6 separate regions of the Homo sapiens genome follow, and all the other regions are linked to region 6. The links are contacts of gene promoters, found by promoter capture Hi-C in blood cells and fetal thymus (Javierre and others, 2016). All regions are on one chromosome and are shown on one strand. The core of a region is centred on a gene start or on the middle of the fragment in contact, and the rest is flanking DNA. Distances in the headings are between cores, read along the strand shown. Region 1 has its middle 240 kb from the start of HULC. Region 2 overlaps LOC100506207 (a long non-coding RNA gene). Region 3 has its middle 590 kb from the start of HULC. Region 4 overlaps LOC100506207 (a long non-coding RNA gene). Region 5 overlaps LOC100506207 (a long non-coding RNA gene). Region 6 holds the start of TFAP2A-AS1 (TFAP2A antisense RNA 1).

The links. Contacts are between HindIII fragments. The CHiCAGO score rates a contact against its expected background, and 5 or more counts as called.
Region 1: a fragment that was not itself captured here is called in contact with the fragment with the promoter of TFAP2A-AS1 in region 6 in 1 of 17 cell types (M1 macrophages); the score reaches 5.1 in M1 macrophages.
Region 2: a fragment that was not itself captured here is called in contact with the fragment with the promoter of TFAP2A-AS1 in region 6 in 1 of 17 cell types (M2 macrophages); the score reaches 6.0 in M2 macrophages.
Region 3: a contact is called between a fragment that was not itself captured here and the fragment with the promoter of TFAP2A-AS1 in region 6, in 1 of 17 cell types (endothelial precursors). The highest score is 5.2, in endothelial precursors.
Region 4: a fragment that was not itself captured here is called in contact with the fragment with the promoter of TFAP2A-AS1 in region 6 in 2 of 17 cell types (M0 macrophages and megakaryocytes); the score reaches 9.4 in M0 macrophages.
Region 5: a contact is called between a fragment that was not itself captured here and the fragment with the promoter of TFAP2A-AS1 in region 6, in 1 of 17 cell types (M2 macrophages). The highest score is 8.3, in M2 macrophages.

What each region holds. Positions count from the first base shown.
Region 1 is chr6:8,888,444-8,891,143 of GRCh38, reverse strand. No RefSeq gene overlaps it. Among named protein-coding and RNA genes, the nearest start is that of HULC, 240 kb to the right of the region's middle. The HindIII fragment of the contact is 724 bases long and covers 1,064-1,787 here.
Region 2 is chr6:8,437,786-8,440,485 of GRCh38, reverse strand. LOC100506207 (a long non-coding RNA gene) reads right to left here. Exons shown (of 5, transcript NR_038980.1): 2 at 2,455-2,546. Among named protein-coding and RNA genes, the nearest start is that of SLC35B3, 3.6 kb to the right of the region's middle. The HindIII fragment of the contact is 6,003 bases long and covers 1-2,700 here.
Region 3 is chr6:9,244,943-9,247,642 of GRCh38, reverse strand. No RefSeq gene overlaps it. Among named protein-coding and RNA genes, the nearest start is that of HULC, 590 kb to the right of the region's middle. The HindIII fragment of the contact is 337 bases long and covers 1,126-1,462 here.
Region 4 is chr6:8,706,791-8,709,490 of GRCh38, reverse strand. The region is part of intron 3 of LOC100506207 (a long non-coding RNA gene); the gene reads right to left. Among named protein-coding and RNA genes, the nearest start is that of HULC, 56 kb to the right of the region's middle. The HindIII fragment of the contact is 423 bases long and covers 1,044-1,466 here.
Region 5 is chr6:8,723,835-8,726,534 of GRCh38, reverse strand. The region is part of intron 3 of LOC100506207 (a long non-coding RNA gene); the gene reads right to left. Among named protein-coding and RNA genes, the nearest start is that of HULC, 73 kb to the right of the region's middle. The HindIII fragment of the contact is 3,097 bases long and covers 1-2,700 here.
Region 6 is chr6:10,410,988-10,413,687 of GRCh38, reverse strand. TFAP2A-AS1 (TFAP2A antisense RNA 1) reads right to left here and starts at 1,370. Exons shown (of 3, transcript NR_033910.1): 1 at 1,321-1,370. The region is part of intron 1 of TFAP2A (transcription factor AP-2 alpha); the gene reads left to right. RefSeq lists a silencer at 771-1,130. The HindIII fragment of the contact is 20,769 bases long and covers 1-2,700 here.

The DNA.
Region 1 (2,700 bases), core at 176-2,675, 1.5 Mb after region 6:
TATTTTAAGTTCTGGGACACATATGCAGGATGTGTAGGTTTGTTACATAGGTAAACGGGTGCCATGGGGGTTTGCTGCACCTAGCAAGCTATTACCTAGGTACTAAGCTCGGCACGCATTAGCTATTTTTCCTGATGCTCTCCCCACCTTCATAGACAGTATTTTAAAGCATGCCAATGAGTTTAACAGGTACTCATTTTTTAAATCAGTAATCAAATAGCTGTGATTAATTAGTAGGCACACATAAAATTCACAGAAAGTAAATGTCCAGGCAGGGCACGGTGGTTCATGCCTGTAATCCCAGCACTTTGGGAGGCCGAGGAGAGCAGATCACAAGGTCAGGAGTTTGAGACCAGCCTGACCAACACGGTGAAACCCCGTCTCTACTAAAAATACAAAAATTAGCCAGGCGTGATGGCATGTGCCTGCAGTCCCAGCTACTTGGGAGGCTGAGGCAGGAGAATCACTTGAACTCGGGAGGCAGAGGTTGCAGTGAGCTGAGATTGCACCACTGCACTCCAGCCTGGCAACAGAGTGAGACTCCATCTCAAAAAAGAAAAAAAGAGAATAAATGTCCAAGTAAAACTGGACCTGTAATTATTTGCACATTAATAAGAATAGCCTTTCCTTAAAGCCCATAAAATAACCTCAAACCAAACATCGAGAACAGCTCTGTTCCTGAGGAAATCTCAGGGCCAAAAACTGTTATCCATTGTACCTATTGCCAAAGTAACACTACCTTTTAGGGGAACTTATTTTCAATGGTGATCATACAAAGGAACAGGTCATAAAGTTTGTATTGCCCTATTGGGAAATTTCTAGAGTTTATTTGTAAGAAACAGGCTTCTTAGGCTTATTGCAATAATAGAAAAGATAGACACAAAATACCTCCAAAAATGGAGGGTTTTAACTACCACCAATAAGTCAGCTGTTGTTCAAAGAGAACAGAGATAAGAAGATATGAACATCAATGCAGGTTATTATTACCAAATGGAGCTCACTAAGCTCAGCATCCCTGACACAGTGTATTTTAGACGCTATAAATTTCAACCTAGGCCAAGCTTTACAGAAACTTTTAAAAAAATTTTTATTATGAGTTCAGGGATACAAGTGCAGGTTTGTTACATAGGTAAACTTGTGTCATGGGGGTTTGTTGTACTGATTATTTTATCACCAGGTATTAAGCCCAGTACTCATTAGTTATTCTTCCTGATCCTCTCCCTCCTCCCACCCACCACCCTCCGAAAGGCCTCAGTGTGTTGTTCCTCTGTATGTTTCCATGTGTTCTCATCATTCAGCTCCCTCTTATACGTGAGAACATCCAGTATTTGGTTTTCTGTCCCTGTGTTAGTTTGCTAAGGATAATGGCCTGGAAGACAACTTAGGCAACACTATTCAGAACATAGGCATGGGCAAAGATTTCATGACGAAACTGCCCAAGGCAATTGCAACAAAAGCAAAAATTGACAAAGGCGATCTGATTAAACTGAAGAGCTTCTGCACAGCAAAGGAAACTACCGACAAAGTAAACAGACAACCTAAAGAATGGGGGAAAATTTTTGCAAACTATGCATTCTGGAAACGTGTTTTCTAAAGCAAATAGATACATATCTCTTCCATCTTAGCATCCTCATCTTCGTGTACGTATGTATGTATACATAAAATATGAAACAGAACAAGATAAAATATAACTCATGTCTATATTCTTTATATGTTCAAGTCCATTTCTATGTTTATCTTTTTTTCTCATTTCACCAGAGCTTATTTGTGCTAAAATTGATGAAGCTTATCCAATAATTAAAACTGTGGTTGAAGAAGATACAATGGTTCTGAAGTATCTTTCTTTGTCAAGCAACTCTATTTGGTACAGGGATTAAAGTCAGACGACAAATGTGACCTAGTTTCAACATTAAAACGTTCCTAATTTAGAAATTAAAATGCCTTAGTTACACTACCTATAAAATGAAGATAAAGATTCTAAAGAATTCCTTAATGATTTATATAATAAAACATTTATAAATCACATCATAGACGAATGTAAAATAGTAATGACAAAGCATTCATCACTCTGATACCAATGAGGTGTCTCCGCTTTCATATTTTCAAATGGAAAATAGTATATATTCATTTCTATTTTTATTTGATAGAGAACATTATGTGATATTCTGCTAATTATTTCATTTTATAATTACACTTTGCTTAGCCAAAAGTTAAAATCCACTTGTTTTACTTGAATGTAGAGGAAGAACCCCAGGAACAGATATTCACTGCAAGGGATATTATCCTGGAATTTAAACAATTCAACACCATCTCGTACATGAGCTCATTCAGTTGTATGTGTTTATAAACTCCCCTATGGGACATTGGATAATTATATTCATTCATCCATCACTCATTCACTCACTCTTGCATTCTTTAACAAGAATTAATTGAGCACCTATTATAAACTGTAACTTGCAGGGTGCAGTAATTTTCTAGGGCTGCTGTAACTAACTACCACTAGGTGGCTTAAAACAACAGAAATGTATTCTGTCTGAGCACTGGAATCTATAAACCCAGCGTCAAGGTATCAACGGGACCATGCAAGTCTCAGACTCTGGGTAGAATCTTCCCTTACCTTTTTCTAGTTTCTGCAGGTGGCCTCCAATCCTTAGTGTTTCTTGGCTTGCAGCTGCATCTCTTCAATATCTGCTTCTGTTG
Region 2 (2,700 bases), core at 46-2,545, 2.0 Mb after region 6:
TTGTCATCCACATATCCACAATACCCAGTAGCATGCAGAGTAAGTGCTCAATAAGTATTTATTAAATGGATATTTAATGAAAATCAAATTAACTAGTTTTTCTGCTCAGTGCATCTGGAACCATATATCTATCAATGAACTTCCTAGTTTGGAAATGCTATATAACCTATTCCTTATGGAAGAGCTAGAAAAGTGACAACTGATGACTATATATAAATGGATTATTCTAATGATAGTAGGCTATATTAATAAGAATATTAATAGCTAACTTTTACTAAGTGTTTGTCAGGTAATAGGTGTTGTGCTAACCATTTAACCATCTTTAAACATCTTTCACTTACTCATCACTACAATTTACCACATAGGTACTACTGTCATTCCCATTTCACAGATGGGGAGATTGAGACTTAGAGAATTTAAGCAATTTGCACAAAGACACTCAAAGAGCAAGGGGTGGTGCAAGGATTTAAATTTAATCTGACACTAGAACCTGAGACTTAACTATGCAAGATGATTCTTCACAGACACATGACTAAGTAACACCAATTGACACGAACTGACATTGTTGATCACTCCTTCCTCCTTTAAACATTGTCTTCACCTGGCTTTTAGAAGACTGTACATTCCTGGACCCATCCTATGTCAACAGCTGCTTCTTCTAAGTCTCCACTGCTGGTTTCTCTTTCTCGCTCCCCCAAGTCACATGACTTGATTATCTAGGACATCCTAAAATACATAAAAACACCTCCCAAAAATTGCTCCTAGGAAATGGAAGGCATTTATCCATAGGTGCCCATTCCCCATTGGTGGATCATTGCCTGGGGGTGTTAATGCCACCAAACTTCCCAAGGGCCAGGTGTGTGTGTGTGTGTGTGTGTGTGTGTGTGTGTGTGTGTGTGTCAGGAGTGACGGCATCTCAACCCTATCTGAGCACTGTTCCTGAAAAGGATACTTGCTGATGTTCACAAAACAATGTCAGTGTTCTATCAGGCCAATTTCCTCCAGTTGATACAATATATGGTAGGACCAGTGGAATTCCATGGTCGTGTGTCATTGTCACACCTCTTTTACCATAAAGTGTGTCCTTTAGTTGGAGGCAATACATCAGAAAATCATGTGTTTGGGCTGGGTGTGGTGGCTCACGCTTGTAATTGCACCACTTTAGGAGGCTGAGGTGGGCAGATCACTTGAGGTCAGGAGTTCACAACCAGCCTGGCCAACATGGTGAAACCGTGTCTCTACCAAAAATACAAAAAAATTAGCCAGGTGTAGTGGCAGGCACCTGTAATCCCAGCTACTGGGGAGGCTGAGGCAGGAGAATGGCTTGAACCTGGGAGGCAGAGGTTGTGCCACTGCATTCCAGCCTGGGCAACAGAGTGAGACTCTGTGTCAAAGAAGGAAGAAAGGAAGGAAGGAAGGGAGGGAGGGAGGGAGGGAAAGAGAGAAAGAAAGAGGAAGGAAGGAAGGGAGGGAGGGAGGGAGGAGATGGAGGGAAGGAAGGGAAAGAAAGAAAAAAGAAAGGAAGGAAGAAAAAAGAAAAGAAAGAAGGAAAAGAGAGAGAGAAAGGAAAGAGAGAAAGAAAGAAAGAAAAAGGAAGGAAGAGAAAGAAAGAAAAAGAAAAAGGAAGGAAGGAAGAGAAAGAGAAAGAAAGAAAAAGAAAAAGGAAGGAAGGAAGAAAGAAAAAGAAAGAAAAAAAGAAGGAAAGAAAGAAAGAAAGAAAGAAAGAAAGAAAGAAAGAAAGAAAGAAAGAAAAAAGAAAGAAAGAAAGGAAGGAAGGAAGGAAGGAAGGAAGTCAATCAATCATGTGTTTGTAACTCTGTTATATAATGGTACTGGCAGAGGCACCATGAACAAGACCAGTCATATCAAGGGAAGTGTCAGTTCCGTAAGTACAAACCACGGCTCTCTCCAGGAAGGAAGGACTTTTGTGTAATTGCTCTCCTTATGGAATTTACCATCAATCTTTGCTGCTGATGGGCTGGACATCCAAAGAGGCAGTAGTCATATCGGCTTTAGTAAGAAAGAGCCTTAATTGTTGGGCCATGCACATGTCCTCCCCTTAATATCACTAAGAAAGTCCTTGTTGTCATCTGACTGCAAAGTAACCCACTTCCAGAGTTCTGAGGAGCTGCATTCTAGACTTTCTTCTTACATCAAATTTCTTAGCTTGGTTTCCCTCAAAACCTGAGACAACTACTTATGTGGGGACAGGTAATTTGGGATGTGATCCTAGTGAGAAACAATGAGAGAATGGAAGGGAGAATATAGACATAATACAAGAATGTGTTATTGAAGTTGCTGTTGTGAGAAACCAGAACCCAATTTCACTGGGACTTTTTGAAAAACACACAGAATGGCCTACAAAACTATCTTGCTCAAGTGTAAGAAGCAAGAGCATTTATCCATCAGTGACTGTCACCCCTTGGTTGAAGGGCCCCAGATGTGTTGACTTACCAGCACTTCAAAGCTGTGCAGGACAGGAGCTGAGAGAGCTACTGCTGGAATGTGTGAAGTCCGAAGAACCTCAGGGAAGAAAGCAAAGAGGCCTGGTAAATGTGGGAGAGGAGAAGCTGTCAGGGAGAAGAATGTGTAAGATTGCATGAAACTGCCCCCCACAACCAAGTCAGAAATGAGAGGTGATGCTCAGAAGATGTGAATCAAGACACCAAAGGTTTCTGATACTACAGAATTATTAATTTC
Region 3 (2,700 bases), core at 45-2,544, 1.2 Mb after region 6:
TAGCAAATGTCTTCTAGATATTTAAATCCAGAGATTTCTGATTAAAAATTTCATGTTGCATATATAACTGTATTACATGGTTTCTAAGCCTGGTGCACAGGCTGGATTATCCTATACTCTACTGGTTGAAGAATCTTGATATAAATAATTTTATTCTCATATTTTCCAGTCATGAAAATTTACATCTTATAATAAAATCATAAATATTTGTCTTCCAAGAGCAAACAGATTGCTCTCTATACATCTAATTTTTCCTATATTCTCTACCAATAAGATTTTAATAAGAAATATTACCACTTACTTACCCTCCCAAATACTTGCAAATTATTTTCTTTATAAAATTATAATATATATATATAGTTAATTAAAAACTGAGACTTCCATACCTACAAGTTAAGAAAAAAAAGTTCTGTAACTATTCAGACTATTACTCACTCAAAATACTGTATATATAAAAAGAAAAACATGTTGAAAAGTTGATAATTAACTCAAATAAAAATCAATGTGACATTCGTTTGTAGTTATTCATATCATTTTTCTAAACTTCAAAGCAGCAGCAGCATCTAAATGTTTGCCCAAAGTTCCCAATTTTGGCTTTAACTGTAGCTATTTAGCTTGTAAAGCACAACGCTGGCCTAATTTCCAAGCTTTAGACCTTATTAGTGAACAAATTTCTATATTTAGAACCTCATATTACACTTGATTCTTCACATACCTGATTTTTAGTGCCAAGCTCCTGATTTAGGTTCCTAAATGCATATTTCAAGCTGCCAACTACTTCTTGTCATAATAGGATTAAGTTGTCTATTGTAGATCATAAAATAGATAAGATATGCCAAAACTGTTTATACAAAACTTTAAGACCATGAGCTAGTAGAGTTTCATTCACATTATTATCATAATCCTACAAAAACCTTAAAGTCATCATTAGTAATTGGTTAGGTTCATAAATTAGGTTACTAAATTAGCAGATCCAAAATAATACCAATGATTCCTTTTTCTTAAATTAAGAAAACTTGTATTTATAATAATTCTGCTAGATTTTCAGCATAAAAATTGGCCACCACCCAAGTTATCTGATATCTAAATATTTTACTTATGTAATGCTAGGACTAAAGGTAAGCTTTGGAAACAGCAAGCTCATTCTTTCATTTTATAGATGAGGTCAAGAAGCTCCTGATCACACAGAGAACTCAAGATTTCTGGTTTCTGGTGTAGACAGCTTGCTGCTACCTTTCCTGCATTTAACTCAAAGCTGAATAAATAATAATATCTTCTGGTGGAGTTCTCTAATAGAACTACATTCAAGAATTGTTGATCTATTTATACTAAAACTCAACTCTTTTCAAATCTGGATATAAGTCCATTTGAGAAATAAATAACTTCTGCATATGTTGACAGATTACGTGCCAGTGGCTTTGAGAGTAGAAAGAAAGAGTGGTTATGATAACCAAATGAAGCTTTCTATTCTCTTCCACGTTATGCCTGCTCCTGAGCCCCTTACTTTGTGTTGGTCATCTGGTTTGTCTATGGAAACAGCAGGCCTGCTGGTATTTTTATGCTCAGATCAAAATTACCCAGGGACAAAAATGCCCAACAGGGAGACACTTTTTGCCAGATTAGATCATTGGAGGTGTTGTCTTCACTAAGAAAAGGTGCAGGGGGGATCATGGGAAGAGACGCATTGGATGCATCTGATTCAAAAAAGTGCCTGAGACCAAGAGGACTAAGGTATCCAAGGCAAACCAAAGTCAAATTGAACGCTCTTTTACCTCTCTTCTTCCGCCCTTTCATTCTCATCAATTCATAGAAATGTAATTCTCCCTGGGCCACATCATCTTTGCTGTGGCACTTCGGTCCCTATCCCATTACTATCCTGAAACAGCTTGCTCCTTGCTTTGTTTCTACCCTTCTCTGATTCTGAAAAGGACAGAAAAGAGAACTATCTAGATGTCACTCAAAACCATATTGAATTCCTTAAATAGAATCAACATGGGAAGCACCTTCACCTAAAGCACATGTGTTCCCCAACATCAGAGAATTCATGGGGGAAAACAAAGGGAATGGCCTCCCCGAGGATTTATCCCCAACACCACATCAGAGAGACAATGAATGTGACAGATTAAATGCACCGGCTTCTTCAGTTAGAGTTGTTTTTGCTTTGGCATGAGAAAACTGAAAGTTCTTGAATGTTACGGAATATCTCCTATGTCAAGCCTTCCCTTGTTTTCCCAAGGACATAAAAGTTTCCCTCGCCTCTTTCCTTCTAAAAAATAGGTCTTTTCAGGCTGGGTGCAGTGGCTCACACCTGTAATCCCCACACTTTGGGAGGCTAAGGCAGGTGGATCACTTGAGGTCAGGAGTTTGAGACCTGTCTGGCCAACATGGTGAAACCTCATCTCTACTAAAAATACAAAAATTAGTCAGGCATGATGGCACATGCCTGTAATCCCAGCTATTTGGGAGGCCGAGGCAGGAGAATCACTTGAACTCGGGAGGCAGAGGTTGCAGTGAGCCAAGATCATGCCATTGCACTCCAGCCTGGGCGACAGAGTGAGACTCCGTCTAAAAAAGAAAAGAAAAGAAAAAAAAATAGGACTTTTCCATCTATCAGGCACTGACTACATTGTCCTGTAATTAGTAACTTATGAGCCTGCCCCTAGCACCCCACCAAGCTGACAGATAATTGAGAGGAGAGCC
Region 4 (2,700 bases), core at 6-2,505, 1.7 Mb after region 6:
GTTTTAAGTAATGAATGAAAATATATGGGCATGTGAATGCGCATACACAGTATGTGTGTGGAGGCTTGTGTAACATTCTATTCTTCTCCTCTGAAGCATATTGATGAAAATGAGTGTTTTTACAGGTAGTCTTAAATTTTCCTGCACTTAATTGTGTACACAGTATATTTTGAGCAGACTTATCTACTTAATTTTGTTTGACTTAGAGTATTACTAGTGTTCACTATCCTCTTGAATTATTTCGGGAAGTGGAGAGAAAGTAATTTTGTTTGAAAATATGCCTGCACTCATCAACATATATGTAATAATAATGGCTAATATTTGTTGTATAGCAAACTGTATTATAATGGCAATATTTATGGTATAACAGGCTCTATGAAGCAAGTACTTTTATTATCCTCATTCTACAGTTGGGAAAACAAGATCTTATGGAGGGTTAAGTAATGTATATTATATCACATAAAAGCTGAGATTTAGCTAGTCTAGAAATTATACCTAAATTAAGGGAATGTAGTTTTCAGATAGGTTCAAGAAGCAGAATAATTACTAACTTTAGGATACACTCATTATGGACCCTATTCTGATTCTTCAGTGACTGCATGCGCAGCAAGGATCCTCTAACCTCTTCTCTATGAAATAGAATATTGTGTAAAACAAATGTTTTATGCTACTTCTTCTGTGCTTAAAATACACCTGCGTGTTATAAGGTGTTCTAGAGGGATCCAGGTTTACCAGGTAACTGTAGATACCAAATCCTGCCACTGTCAAGAGTCTTTAATAGAAGAGACACCCAAACCTGCTTCAACACTGCCCTATTTTCCATGATTTCTTAAAGATTCTAAATAGAATCCATCATTTGATAAGCCATGGGGAATAGTGTACTTTCAGATTGAGCAATTCTCCCATGAATAATCTAATTTGCTTTTCAGTTTGGAAACTCCCTCACTCACTGCTTCAGACTTTTAAGGGGTTTAGGATAGAAAGGAAAGGAAAGATTAAGTAAATACCTGAAGCAGCAACAACATTTTGGATATATCAAAGCTTCTACTTATTAGATTTAAACACAATGAATTTCCCAGAAAGGCAAAGAGGAGTGGCTCTAACTATGCCAGGGGGAACAGGAGTGCCAAGAGACCTGAGTGGCAGTTTGCTTGGCTCTGTGACAATGATTTTGCTCAAATGCTCCCCACCTTGCTTCCGAGCAGTGCAACAGCCTCGGTTCAAACAAAGCACTTACACAGCCTCACCTGTGGGTTGCCAACACCTCGCAGGGTGGAATCCTGGCTGTCAGACAAAACTCCGACTGAAAGTTCATTTCATAAATGCTTCCAAGTCAAAAAGCCATTTTTACTGGGCTGGTTTCAAGCATATCGCTGCCAAGACTTAAATTTCCCATCTCACACTGCCATCTACTGTCTAAGGTCCAGTGCTCTTAAAAAAAAGAAGAAGGAATGATACACCAAGCTTTCCAGGAGTCCAGGGCATTATTCGTGGATGCTCTTTTCAGAGTCCCTCTTGAACGGTAATCAAGTCTGATTGCTTTTATGTTCACCAATAACGCTATACTTCAGAGTCATATGAAATGCATGTGGACCAAAACCACATGCATTTGTGTGTGTGAACTCATGTGAGAAAAAAAAAATATAGTCTGTTTTAAAAGAATTGGAACCACCATTAGTTAGTATCCAGGGGAAATAGACCCAAGAGATCATGATTGAGAGTCATTGCCTCATTGTTTTAATTGTAGAAAAACAAAGCTGTCTCGAACTGACTGGACTTCATTGACATTAATGTGGTCTCATCCTACTAGACCTTGGCAGCTAACAAGAATCTTGAGAAATGAACAGTCAGGACTAGACAATGTCAGGATGCCCATCCAAGTCCAAGGGCGCCTTCAATCATCGCAGAACACTGATCCACTGCGGGCCTTGCATGTGCATTTCCTCCTTCCACCACTGATCATTTCCCCAAGACCAGGCTCTTTCACTTTTAGATAAATTGGCCCAAAACCCAGTGCTTCACTCTCTCCTTCATAGAGGGAGGGAATTCCCAGTCATCACTGCCACAAAAAATAAGCATTTTTCTGATATAACTGTATTTATCATTTATCATGCACCATCAATTAGTTGTTGTTTTGTTTTTTAAAGGGGCAATGGGAAGTCATAAACAAGTCTTGTATTAGAACTCCAAAGAGCTAGTCTTCATCATGACTTTGGCACTTAGCATAAGGATGCATGACCTTGGATAAGGCACTTGATGTCTGCAAACCTCAGCCTCTGTTTCTCTATTTGAAAATGGGGATAATAATTATTTCCCTTCCTGCCTTATAGGTTGAAAGAAAATAATTTAAGTAAGCTATACAACTTGAAATTTGCTAAGAGGATATATCTTAAGTATTCTCACCACCTCCTCATCGAAAAAAGAAAAAGGAAGAAAGAAAGAAAACTATCTGAGGTAATGGATATATTATGAGCTTTATTGTGGTGATTATACATATATCCATCAAATCATGAAATTGCACACCTCAAATATTTAGTTTTTAGTTGTCAAATAAGTCAATAAAATTTAAAAACTTACCAAAAAAGCTACACAGAAGTGAATGATCATTAATATTAACACTGTAACTTAACTCTGCATGCATATTTTTCCATTTAATTTAAGTGTCACTTCCAGTTGCACCTAGAATCTAAAGCTGTATCT
Region 5 (2,700 bases), core at 81-2,580, 1.7 Mb after region 6:
TTTTCACCTTTACTTTTAATGAGAGAATCAGAAGTTTTGTTCTCCCTTGAAGTTAAATATAATTTTGTGTTGTATCAAATGTTTAGCACCTTTCTCTGCAGCTCCGAAGCAGCCCAAATGTAATTTGAGCTAATTCATGAAATGTAGTTTGTGTAACGATATTTATTGCCTGTGAGATAAATACTCAAAATATATCAGATTTATTGATGTCTTGAGAAAGTGGCATTACGGCTGCTTAGAGTGAACCTCTGGGCTAAATGAATATTCAGAGAAGTGAAAGCAGACCGCTGGTATGTGCCTTAAGAAAAAACAACAACAAACAGAAAAATAGCCGGGAAAACGAAATTGCCTACAGTCTAGCTATTTTAGAGTGACGTGTTTAACATCGATTGCAATAGAGATCTGAATGTGGGTAATGCAGAAACCTTTTCTATAAAAATGGGCACAATAGAATAAGGATACGCAGAGTAGGATTTGTGTTATTTCGGTTCTCTTCTTAGAAAATAACGGGCAAACAACGCCTGAAGAATTTATGAGCAAAAAGCTCTTGAGTATGTTTTTATGGCATTGTAGAATGAAAGAAATCATGCTCAGTTCTCAGACAAGATCAAGACAGAAGGACGACCCTGACCAACGTGGTGACACCCCGTCTCTACTAATAATACAAAATTAGCCGGGCATGGTGGCGGGTGCCTGTAATCCCAGCTACTCAGGGGGCTGAGGCTGGAGAATCTCTTGAGCCTGGGAGGCGGAGGTTGCAGCGAGCCGAGATCGCGCCATTGCACTCCAGCCTGGGTGACAGAGAGAAACTCCGTCTCAAAAAAAATAAAAATAAATAAAACAAACAATAAAATAATGCTATGAGTTAAAGTTTGCAAATCAATCATTATTTTTAGAATTTGAAGGATGTAAAGGAAATAAATACTTTAGATAAGTTTGTTGCCTAAATGGCTTCATAAGAAATTAAGGAGAAAGCCCTCAACTGAAAAACTGTTGGTTCATTGGGTTTAAGTTACTCTTCACTAAATAGTAGTTTGCTTTCTACTTCCCCTACCCACACCCTTTGCGATATATCTAATTTCAGAATTGGTAGAAATATATCTAATATATTTTTCACTTAAGTTTTTAATTTTAAATTCACTCTTAAAATTTATATTTGTTTCACTTTCCAATCTGCTTTCTTTGTTTCTGTAACAGAGATACAATCCATTTCTTCATCTATGAAAATTCTAAACATTACCATTTAAGTTCTTTTTCAGATTTTTCTATTATCTGCAGTCTCAAGAGGATTTTCCTGTTGGTTGCATTTGGTTTTCAGTTTTAGCTTAGGGTGATGTGTCAGTTTTATGGTATCAGTTTCTTGTCCATTTTATAGAACTTTTTTACCTGTATTCACAGTAGCATGGAATTCTAGTTTCTCACAAGGGCTTCTGTTTCTATCTATAACTAAGGGTGGGTGCATGGCTTCCAGGAGACTCCCTTAGACATTAGATTTGGTAGTGGTTTTATCCAGGTTAAAAGATAAAACAACACTTCCACATCCCACAGTGTCTTAGACCCATTGGTACGGAAACCCAAACACCTAAGAAAAATATCCAGCCTGAAAGCCCTGAAACACCCCAGGCAGGCTGTGGTTCAATTCCGTGACTCTGCATTTCTTTTTCTGGCAACTCAAGATTTCCCTTTTCCTGTTTTTGAGCTTAGCCAAATATTTTGCTTTGTTTTGTTTTAAACAAGCCCTGTTTTATCCAGAATTCCATATATCTGGGATATAGACACAGCCGCCCAAGTCAGCTTTGTCTGTGGCAGGGCACCAAAGAGAGGCAACAACATTCCTGCCACTTTTTCTTTAATATCAATGTGGTTTTTACTTGTAAAAGCCAGTCCATGCAACAAAATCAGAATACATTCTACCAGCAGAGTGACAATGAAAAACATCAATTACTATGGGCCATGTTTCCTAGGCATGTGATTGTTCACATAATTTTAGAAGCTGAATTATGTAGATAATAAAGTTATCAGATAGCACTAATGTCTTAAGCCTGGAAAGAAAGAGAAGTACTACTCACTAAAAAGAAATTGTAGCCAGAGGATACTAAATAATAATATAGTTGTGTATGGACAGCATATTAAGCAATTGGTGGTGGTGATGTCTGGGAATTGGGGGATATGTGTGTGTGTGTGTGTGTGTATGTGTGTTTGGGAGATTTTAGTTTCATTCCGATTTTTGGTTTTAAGTTTTGTTTATTTGAATCAGCATCCTTTCTCCTGGCTGTTTTTCCATAGTCAGTCTTGGTTCACTGAGACTTTTTTCATTAAAGCAAGTAATAGTTTTCCTCTTCATTTTTTCTTTTAGACCAAGACTGAAATTGGCCTGCAGATCAAAGACCATGGCAAAAAATTCCTGACATTGGAAACTGCCTTCCAAAACATCCCTGTGCCTCATCCCTTTCTACACATTCCATATAAAGAGATTGTTTCATTTTCCACCTGGCAACGCTTAAATTGTTTTATTTTTCTTCATTAAAACCACCACGCCTCTTCATTTAACTCATGTTTTAGTACCTTGATTCAGCAGGATCATAAAAACTTTTATTTTTGTTGTCCTTGCTTCTTTTTGCCGCGGGGAGAAGTAAAAAAGAAACAAGTTAAAGACTATACAGTTAACCCTTCTTTAAAAATATATAACTAGATTTCTAA
Region 6 (2,700 bases), core at 121-2,620:
CCCCGGTAGATGGGGACGGGGTGACATCCCACGGGTACTGGCTCTTCCCTGGGGGGGTCCTGTCGCGCTAGAGGAGGGGCGCAGGGACCCCACGTCAGACCAGTCGCTTTGTTTTCGAGGCTGGGGGCGAGCTTTGCGGGCAGGTAGGAATGAAGCCGAACCCCTCAGTCTCATAGGACAATTCATACTGTACTGGTCTGGGCTTTGGCCGGAGGCTTGGGCATTTCACTTTCGCAGAGGCCGAAACCCAGCTCCAGGTGTGGGCGCCCTCGGCGGGCGGGGTCCGAACCTCCGTGCGGCTCTAGGTGCCGACTGGATGGGGTGGGTGGCTAGGTGGGGGATGAACTTGCACCCCTAGAGGGATCCTGTGGGGGCAAGTGTGAATGCGTGTGTAAGCGAGGCAAAAAAAGATGAGAGAGAGAGGAGAATAAAGTCAAAGCTGTTTCCACAACTTTGGCCGTGGTGGGCAAGCGCCGGAGCGGGGATTTCGGGTTTCGGAGCTGGCTTGGGGCAGTCTGATTGTGCCGGGGCTCTGTAGGGACACGCAGGAGGCGAGGTGCCGCTTGTTCTGACAACCTGGCGGGTAGACTGGCAAAGGCAGCACGCCGGGAGAGCTAGTCGTGTCATCTGGGGGGGCGTCAGGCGGGAGTGGCCCAGCCAGTCGGACGGGTTTTTGCCGGGAGCCGCGAGCCGGTGCCAGCGGCGCCCGGGCTGGGCCGCCTAGCGTCTGTGCGCGCCCCGGCCCGCATCCCGGCTCCCGATCCGGAATCCCCGGCCCCAGAGAGCCGAGGGCAGAGCGACGGTGGCCGGGGAGCGCACGGTGCCCCTGTCCGAGGAAAGCTCAAGAGGAGGCCGAGGAGAGGACCAGTGCAGCGAGCGGGCCGGTCCCGGGCAGGGCGCCGGGTCATGGAGGAGCCGCGCAGCAGCGGGCAGCCGAGTCCCGAGTCCCAGACTCGGCTGCGAAGCGGCGGAGCCCGCGGCCAGACAGGGCCGGGAAGCGCCTGCCGCGCCGAGAGCCCCACGAGCGCCCGGACGCGGTCCCAAGCAGCTCCTACCCGCTACGCACGACCCCCGCTGCATCCCGAGGTCTGCCCCAGCCTTTTAGGTCTGATTGTCCTCGCTCGCTTCCTCTCCCCTTCCCCCTCCCCCGCGGCCTCCCCCTCCGTGCGCTCCGGCTGGGCCCCCTCCCCCTCCCTCCCTCCCTTCCTCCCTCCCTCTTTCCCTCCCTTCCTCCTCTCGGGCTCTCCCTCCTTCCCTCCCTCCCCTCTCCCCACCCGGGGCTCCTCTCCCTCGCCCACACTTTCTTTCTCACACACGCACGCAGACACATTCTCCCTCTCTGCGCTCTCTCCTTCGGTCTCCCTCTCTGCCTCTTTCTCTTTCACTTTTGCATGCCCTGCAACCTTTTAAAATGTTGCCCCTTCCCTGTGATTCGCCAGACGCCGCGCCGCGGCCCCCCGCGCGCTCGCCCGCTCCCTCTCTCGCTCGCTTTTTGTCTCTCGCGCTCCCTCTCCCCACTCCGATTTGCTACACTGAGACTCCCGTCAATGGACTGCATTGAGAGCCGGCTCCGGCGCGAGTTGCCTCTCCGCTTCACGCTCGATTTCCAGGCATTCTTCCCTTATTAAGTATTCGTGTAATATTAATAGTCATGAATATCTGCTATTAGGAGGCTCCAGGAACGCTGCCCAGCGCGGTTATTAGAAGCTCAAGCGAAGCCGCCGCTAAGAAAAGAGGGGGAGACACGGATTAAGGAACACGCACGCACCCACACACTCACACATACTTTTTCCTTTTTCCTTTTTTGGGGTTTTTCATTTTTAAAGAACTTTGAATCATAACCAGTCGCGGCAGGATAGAGACCGTGGGTTCGACCAGCTGAAGGCGCCGCGCGAATCGGTGGTTCAAGTTCGGATGGATCCGAGCCGGGCTCCCGCGCTCCGGGGAGCGTCGGCGCCGTGACTGGAGTCCTGGGTGGCGCGGGGCTCTCGGCGCCTTTTGTGTGGGGCGCGCTCGGGCGGCGGGGCAGCCGGGCGCTCCAGGCTTGCTTGTTTTTTTCCACCCTGACTCGTTACCCCAGACTCTTCGCAGATGTTAGTTCACAGTTTTTCAGCCATGGTGAGTCCCATCCCCACCCCCGTTGCTGTTTCTTTAGGAATTGGATTCTGGAAACCTGGTGCCGTGGAGCTGCCCGAAACCTCGGGTTTCACGCCCAGCTTTCCTTCAGGACACCCTCTCCATTTGCATCCCCCACCCCACCTTCCGCCTTTCTCTCGCTCTTTTCCATCCCTAAATCGAGTGCATTACCCCCTACCCCAGCCCCCGCTCGACCTCTCCGAGCACGCAGACCTACCTCGCCGCGGCTTCCCAAGGCGTGTTTCTCCCCACGTTCATCTTGATTTCCTTGAGTCTTCACTTGTCCCCGAGATGTTCTCAACATTTGATGCTTAAACTGTCTGCAGGAAAAGTGCAGCGCGGTGTGCCCCCTACCCTCGGGACCTGCGGCCGAACCGCCGAGGGTTCGCGGTCTCTGGAATCAACTCTCTTCGCTTGTTTTGCAAGGGAATTGCAATAGAGAAACCTAAAGTCAGGCGTTTCTTCTGCCCTTTGGGGCTGGGGTGGAAGGGGCGGGGGGGGGGGGCCACAGCCCCGGGGTGCACCTCTCTCTTTTAAACCCAATAAGGCTGAATCTTTCTATTT